Regions from separate parts of the Homo sapiens genome. Here regions 2 and 3 are each linked to region 1. Evidence: promoter capture Hi-C in 16 types of primary human blood cells and fetal thymus (Javierre and others, 2016). All regions are on one chromosome and are shown on one strand. The core of a region is centred on a gene start or on the middle of the fragment in contact, and the rest is flanking DNA. Distances in the headings are between cores, read along the strand shown. Region 1 holds the start of PTHLH (parathyroid hormone like hormone). Region 2 has its middle 160 kb from the start of FAR2. Region 3 has its middle 140 kb from the start of FAR2.

Region 1 (2,700 bases), core at 100-2,599:
CTCTAACTTTTTGAAAAGAGCGCGAGTGGACTGGGAACCATTCAAGGGATATTTGTCTTCTAGGCAATCCTGCTGGTAGGGTTCATTAGTTTCTAGAAGGCTAGTGTGATTTAGATTCTTGAGATGATTCAAGGAATGTGGCCTTTATCAAGCCCGACTTTCCGGGTGATGCTCCACATATTTTACCCAGGGTGGGAGAAATAGCACGCTGTCACCGAGACCCTCGCTCATCGGGGCTCCCACTGGTTCACTGCAGCTAGCTAGCAGTTAAAGTTTACTGCTTAGGTTGGGTGGGGGGGCATATTTTCTTAGAAGCTCCTGCCTTCCTCAGTTCATTACTGTAAACCCCGTACCTTAAAAGACTCGGCTTCTTCTCACTAACAAAGAAAAAAAGCAAAACAAAACCAAAACACACACACGCACACACACACACTCTCTCTCTGGGAATTTCCACAACTTCCCTTGAATGTGTAAGGATTTCTAAATGTTAGACTTGTTTGGATAGTATGAAAGGACAAAGTATCAGCACTCAGAAATGTCAACCTTTGAACCTCGAACACTTTCTGATTTATAAAAAGAATCCTTCCAAAAAGATGCAGGAGCCCTAATGTAATCGTTAGATCTGAAGGGGGAAATCTGTAAAAAAAAAAAAAAAAAAAAAAAAAAAGTCAATCACAAATGAGCCATTTAATACTTGCAAGTTGTTTAACATTGAAATGATAATATTTGCTTCCACAATAAAAAGTCCAAGGTACCTAGCCAAGTTTCAAACTATCCAGGCTTTAAAAAGTCAACCCTTCTCCCAATAGAAGGTTAAAACAAAAATCAGATTGAAATTATCAAATCACTTATGTTGTAAATAAATTCACTTTACTTTCAGAACATTATAAATTAAGGACTGGCATCAATAGACTGCTTTGATTTATGTTGCTTTTTCTACTAATTAAACAAAATTAACCCCCCACTCCTTCCCTCCTTTCTTTTTCCCCACACACTTTTCTGGTGTTAATGGCAAAACATCTATCAAATATTTTTAGAATTTCCTCTCCTCCACAAAAAGAGAAAATATAGACACAGGAAAAATAAATAGTCTTTATATACTCGGAATACCAAAGTTCCCTCCTAATTTATTACTTCACCTTTTCCTTGATTTACAATCTTCTCTCTGCTCTTCTGGCTGAAAGAGGGAAATCTTCTCAGCAGTCTTTTCCAGAAATATTTTTTGTTGTTCTTCAGAAAACATAAAATTAAATCTTAAAATGAATTAAAAGCTTCTTGAAAGGAGACTTCTGTTCCCACTAAAGGCAATTATTAGAAAGCAGGTACCTCTTCCAAGCTGCCCTGTTTATTACTTTCCGTAGAAATTCTCCTCAATATATACCCAGGACCCTGACTTTTTGCCTGTTTTGGAAAGGATATTTTCTGACATCATAATCTAGTTCCTAACATAACTGAGTAATCTCCATCATAATAATGCAGAGGATGCATGACTGCAAATGAGACACAGCAAGAGCACCCCCTACCACCTCCCTCCCCCCCCCGTCCCCCCAGCCCACACACACACCTTTTTTCTAAGGTTTAGAAATAGAACAAGTGCCAATAGAAGCTAAATGTTTGCTTAGGCCTTGCTGTCATGTAAATGCACCTTAGCAAATGGGAAGGCCTGCCTCTAATCTGAAGTATTTCCATGTTTAGCATTATAAGATCTACACCTACACAAATGCCTAGCCCATGAGCACCAGGCTTCCATCTTCCCATCCCCAGTGGCAGTTTATTACAGTATATCAAATTTTAAAAGAGGTTGAAAAAATTTTAAATGCATTACTCTTAAATTCAGTTGAATACCCAGTTAATGTATATCTCCTGTCATAGCTTAGAAAAAAGTAAATAGCATTTATGCTTAGCCTCTTCATCCTTCTTTCTTCTTTCCTCCTTAACCCAAACAGCAAACAGATATACATTATAAACCAAATATGAATCTATAGCACTTTAAACAGTGCACCTGGGCTTGGGAATTCTCTTATTACCAATAAGCATCCAGATTTCACATTTACCAATCTGTAGCTGCAAGCTATGTCTCTAAAATCCCCTGGAACCAAACAACTAAACTCATCCCATCTCTTCTCCAAACTTTTTTCAATGTTTACAAAGAGACGTTGCATAATCAGCTCAAGTAATGCTCTCATTGGATTCCATTAGAATGTGGCTCTCATCGCTCGCCTGGACTGAGACTTGAGAGGAGGCTGTTGCCAGCTGACCTCAAGGTAGCAAAAAAGAAAAAAAGATGTAATGCCTTCAAACCCCAAGTAACAATAGGAAAGGGTGTGTTTCTTTATTAAATCTTTTTGTAGTTAGGTGAGGATAAGACTTCTCCAGGAACAGGGCGGGCTGCTAACCTCTGGAGGAACTGCCTCAGGGAGGAGTGTATAGATATGCATCAAGCTGATGGGATCCTCCCATGGGAAAAGTGGGCCTCACACCCTTCCTCACCCTTCCCTACTTCCTGGGCAATGTTCTGCTTCCCCCAAACTGAAGCAGGAGGCCCAGAGAGGAGGCGGTTTCCTGGGAGGAACCCAAACCAATGTGAGATGAGAAGGTCTTTAGGAAATGGGGGTCTCTGAGAACCGGTTCTTAAAGGTCAAGCACTTGAGCACCTCGCAAACTCCTGACAATTGAAACATATCTGAAGAGTCTTCTTCA
Region 2 (2,719 bases), core at 21-2,520, 1.0 Mb after region 1:
TTTTTAAAAAACAATCTTTCAAGATATTATGATAATTGTCTTAATACAGCATGATCCAGATGTCTTTTGAGCTAATCTCTATGTTCATTATTCATGTCACTGGAAAGAATATGGAATAACAACAGCCCCTAAGGTCCACAGTGATAAGCCCCTGTTCCATCTTCCCCAGTCACAGACCATCTTTGTTAAATGAAGGAAACTAAGAGTGTTATGCTGAAGAGCATGGATTTTGAAGCCAGTCAACCTGGTTTGAATCTCAGTCCTACTGCATATTTGTCCTGTGACCTTGGGAAATTTCCTTAACCTGTTCAAAGCCTGTTTCTGTGTCTTTAACTTAGGGATTGCTGAGTTACTGTGATGAACAAATGTCATCTCTATGGAAACTGTTTAGTGAAGACCCTAATACATAGTAGTCTTCAACCCTATTTTTGTTATTTATTGTCTTCTTTTTGTTGTGCAAAGTGTTATGTTGTGAGAATCTGTAGGTCTGTCAGAGAGGAGGGCTTGAGAAAGGTAAGGCTGAAAGAGAATGAAACTGACATGCAGCAATTCCCAGTGTGTCTCCAGGGGCAGTCTTCCTACACACTGATATTTAGCGTATAGAAAATCCCTTTATTCAACCAGAGGCATGACTTAATAGCAATGAGAAATTCTCTGGGACACATGAGCAGAGAAGTCTGTCTCTGAAATTTCTGGGAGGTTTTCAAGTCCTCTGCTGCTCCAAAAGGTGCATTTGTTTTTTTTTTTTTTTTACACTGCCTAACCAAAGTCAGTATGTGGAACACGAGACAGCATTGTTATGATCATCATCATTTAAAAGCATTAATTCATGGTCTATTTTCAAATAGTGGCATGCTAGACTCTACCCTCTGAGAGCTTTAATATAGAGCACAACTGATCTACACTAAAAAGAAAAAGAGAAAAACCCAAACAAGAACAACATTGCTGGAGTAGTTGGCGGAGATTATAAAACAGTGTGCATGCTCCTCTTGAGTGGTTTGGGGAGGTAGTGGAGGAAGTATAAACAAAGATACCCATAAGAATCTATAGTTCAATAAAGCAAACTATCTTTTTGACATAAAATATTTTAAAAAGGTGACAATCGAGTTGTCCTCCTTCATACTAGCTAATTTTTGTATTTTTGGAGAGATAGGATTTCACCATGTTGCCCATGCTCCTGCTCATGCACAGCCTTTACTTAATGTAAGCATGTGATTTCCTGGCACCATCAACATTAGGTAAAGGCTGTGTGTGTGCAGGAGCATGAATCTCAACACAAATTGTTATCCCTTAGAATGAAGCCCGAGTGGTTTTTGTGAATTTAATCAGAATCTCCAACCAAAACTACTTACCATTTTGGAAAACATAGTGGTATTTCGAATCCAATTTAACAAATATACTAATTACTATAAAAAACATTCTTTGGTCATGGCAGAGACTCTTCAAGGTAAATTCTCAGACAACTGAACTTAGATAATATTTACTTGGTCAGGCATGGTGGCTCACGCCTGTAATCCCAGCACTGTGGGAGGCTGAGGCAGGCAGGCGGTTTGAGCTCAGGAGTTTGAGACCAGCCTGGGCAACATGGCAAAACCCCATCTCTCCAAAAATACAAAAATTAGCTGGGCATGGTGGCACATGCCTGTAGTCCCAGGTACTTGAGAGGCTGAGGCAGGAGGATCACTTGAGCCCAGGAGGTCAGGGCTGCAATGAGCTGTGATCACCACTGTACTCCAGCCTGGGCAACAGAGTGAGACCCTGCCTCAAAAAAATTTTTTTCTTACTATCACCAGGTGAAGTTTGCTTATGGTAGTTATGGTTTTGGAGCCCTTAGAGGTTACTTGTTCAGGCGTTTGGTTAATGTGCTCCGTTACTCTCTAAACCCCGCCCCACCATCTCCAATCCAGGACTTCACTCAGAAGGATTTTAATTCAAATTCTATTTTAATGTAAAAGGGATTTTAATTTAAATCCTTTTTATTGTTTAACGAGAAGAGAAATACCATCAACTCCACCTCTCATTTTACTGTAGGAAAGTAGAATTGTAGAAAAGTGAATATGCATACCCCATCTTTTATAGACATCATATGGCCTTGTACTAAATTCTTTTGTTATTCTCAACACTTTGATGTTACTTTTGAGAGGGGGCCTCATTTTCTTTTCCTAGACTATGTTATGACATCTTACATCTCTGTGCTTCTGTCCATATACTTCCACAGTCCTGGGATGCCTTTCTCCCCTTTCTATTTGTTGACATCCTACTTGTAATTTATACTGAAAAATAAATGTGTCCTTTTAGAGAGAGCACTCTGTGACCCTTCCAATTTTTCCTCGCTGAGCAGAACTAACAGGTTTCTACTAGGCAATCCTATTACACTTTGTTTATATACCTGTCTTACTTGTATATTTAATGTTACTTGTGCAACTAGTGCAGTAGGGACACTCATGGGCACTAGTGGCACCTCAAGCCAGAGACCTGTGGATGAGGTCCCCTGTGGCTCAGCGGTGACAAAAGCGTCAGCAAATTTTGACAAAGCCGTGAGGCACTAACACAGCAGATTGAAATAGGAGAGAAGAAAATGGTAAATGGTGTTGGCAATATGGCAGCCAATGATAGTCACTCATAAGACATCTTCTGGGTACCAATGAGTAATTTAAAAGGAAAGAAAGCCAAAGAAAAACTCCTTTATGAGAATCATTTTGATCCTATTTCAACTCCC
Region 3 (2,700 bases), core at 117-2,616, 1.0 Mb after region 1:
GAAAAGTGAGATCAATGTATGAAAGATACAGAGAAACGACTTAAGATCAACGTTAGTTCAAACTCGCTAAAGACAGAATAAATTGCTTCAAAAGAAGTGAGGTGCAAGTCACTGAGACATTAAAGCCCAAGTTGAGTTTGTCAGAGATGCAGTGCAAGGAATCCAAAGATCAGATATGTGATTTCACAATACCCTTTGGGGTTCTTTTGATTCTGACCTTCTATGATGCCAAGGCTTTAATCTGCCTCACAGAAGTCTTTTGAGTAATAATAAATTGTTTCATGATGTTCATTAGTGGTGATTTTTTGCCTAGGGCCAATGTATATATAATTGTTAATATTTGCAGATTCAGCTTTTTTCTTGATAAATTCATTTATAATCTAGTCACTCTGATCATATATCAAATTTAACAAAAATGTATTTGAAAGTATAAATGACAAGCTTTGACAAATTATATTGATTACAATTTTAAATAAAAAAATGGAGTGAGCCACAGATTCAACTCAGATTAAATTTGATACCTCCGGGAAGTTTAACACACTTGGTCAGTCTTCTTAAAAAGTTATCAAGGGTCTAGCAAACTGATTGGTGGTATACAGATGAGCTGCATGAGCAAGATGAAAGACCATATTCATTTGGGCAGAAGAAAAATTGCGGTGTTGTTTGAAATACTGCTGATGCCACAAATTATAGACTTGAAATTATTACAGCATCTTTATCTCTGTTTTCTACAAAACTACATAACTTCATAGTAATATCTTATGGTGATGGTTTTCTCCATTCTGTAAATAAAACAGAAACAATTTTTGTTTCACGATTGAATGAGAATTCAGACTTGAGATTATGGGTAAATCTTGGAGTGTTCCAAGTTTTGTCAGAATCTATCAAGTCTGTGAAAAGTTATTTTGAAACAAACATGCTGACAGAGGAGAGGAAAATGTCGAGCAACCGAGTTGAAGCAGAGACCTTTCATTTAATTAATGAGTGTTATCAGAGCCTCTGTCTGAGTTTCTTAATATTCCTGTCTGTGCAATGTATTCACTCACTGACATGAGCCATGAAACAAACTGTGATCTATGTATTTTCATTATTTCATAACTGAATGGGCTCATGTTAATAATTTTTATAGTTGATTGTTGATGAAATCTTTTATCTTAGCTGTCTTTCATCAGAAAGGTTTTAAAGCTTTTTTCTTCTTTTAAGCACTGGTAATAGAGAAGTAGAATTAAATATATAAAAGCCCATCAAAAGAAGAGTGTAATTAAAGGCAGCTATATTGTCCTGGCAGTTTTTTAAATGAAGCTAAAAAAAAATAGCCTTCCATTTTGATTGAGCAACACATGTAATCAAAGTGCCACTAACATTCTTAATTTAAATGAGCAGTTTCATTTAAACTTTCATTTGTTCCTAGGGGTTTCTTTTCATCTACGGCTAAAGAGTATACACTTGGGTAATATTGGCCTTAATTTGAAAAGCTGACAGAATAGTCTTATAAAACTTCTCTTGGACGTTATGAAAACCTAAAATAGTTTCTCATTATTTATATAAAAGCTTCCACAAAGGGATTCTGATTTTTCAGTCCAACTTCCTTTTAAGTTACTTGTCTTTGTTGTTATAATTTGGATATTTGCCCCTCCAAACCTCATATTGAAATTTTATCCTCAATGTTGGAGTGGGGGTGCCTAATGGAAAGTGTTTGGGTCATGGAGGCCGATGCCTCATGAACGGCTTGGTGCCATCCTCGTGGTAGTGAGTGAGTTCTCGCTCTATTATTTCCTGTGAGAGTTCCCCTGAGACTTGATTGTTAAAAAGAACCTGGCTACTTCCTCCCCGTCTTGCTTCCTATCTCACCATGTGATCTACACATGCTGGCTCCCCTTGGCTGCCCCCCTGAGTGGAAGCTTCCTGAGGCCCTTGTCAGAAGTAGGTGTTGGCGCCATGCTTCTTGTACATCCTGCAGAACCACGAGACAAATAAACCTCATTTCTTTATTAATTATCCAGCCTTGGGCATTCCTTTATAGCAACACAAACAGACTAAGATATAGGTGTTTCTTAAATTTTAATACTTTGACAATCTGCACCAGGACTTCAGGAAGTCATGTAAAAATGCCAATACCCAAATTTTGCCAGACAGCCTGATTAAGTAGATCTCTATGAAGTAGAGACCAGGAGTTAAAAGCCCTCCCTCCAAATAATGTTTAATTATCTAAAATTGAAGAATCTTTTCTCTATTAAAAATTAACATGATTTTCATTTTCACAGAGATGTAGAAACTAGGACTATATTTACCCTCCCACCTAAAAAACTGCCTTTTAAAAAAGATAAAATATAATGAACAATAGTTTTCAGACATTAGACATCAAACAGTGCAGTGATCTCCAAGAGAATGGATACAAAATTAGATGATCCCCATGATTACCCCAGCAAAGGTTTCCAGGCCTCTGCACAGGGAAGGAAAATGCAGGAATTGCCCAGTTATCTCCCAAAGTAGAACAGACAAGATTTGTGACTTTGGAAATGTCCAAGAGGCTAGAGTATTCAGGCAAAGAGTCAGAAAGGAGAGGCCTGCACAGACAAGAAGTCCCCCAAAGCAACAGAATCCCACCCTCATTTCTTCAGCTGAGTACTGAGCATGATATGCATGTGAAGAAACTGCCCAAGCTGGGGAAAGAATTACCTAAAAACCAGAGGGAAAATC

Evidence for each region. Contacts are between HindIII fragments. The CHiCAGO score rates a contact against its expected background, and 5 or more counts as called.
Region 2: a contact is called between a fragment that was not itself captured here and the fragment with the promoter of PTHLH in region 1, in 1 of 17 cell types (M1 macrophages). The highest score is 5.8, in M1 macrophages.
Region 3: a contact is called between a fragment that was not itself captured here and the fragment with the promoter of PTHLH in region 1, in 1 of 17 cell types (M0 macrophages). The highest score is 5.8, in M0 macrophages.

Annotation. Positions count from the first base shown.
Region 1 is chr12:27,971,384-27,974,083 of GRCh38, forward strand. PTHLH (parathyroid hormone like hormone) reads right to left here and starts at 1,350. Exons shown (of 6, transcript NM_198965.2): 1 at 1,140-1,350; 2 at 544-636. The HindIII fragment of the contact is 3,977 bases long and covers 1,270-2,700 here.
Region 2 is chr12:28,984,364-28,987,082 of GRCh38, forward strand. No RefSeq gene overlaps it. Among named protein-coding and RNA genes, the nearest start is that of FAR2, 160 kb to the right of the region's middle. The HindIII fragment of the contact is 5,574 bases long and covers 1-2,719 here.
Region 3 is chr12:29,004,099-29,006,798 of GRCh38, forward strand. No RefSeq gene overlaps it. Among named protein-coding and RNA genes, the nearest start is that of FAR2, 140 kb to the right of the region's middle. The HindIII fragment of the contact is 366 bases long and covers 1,184-1,549 here.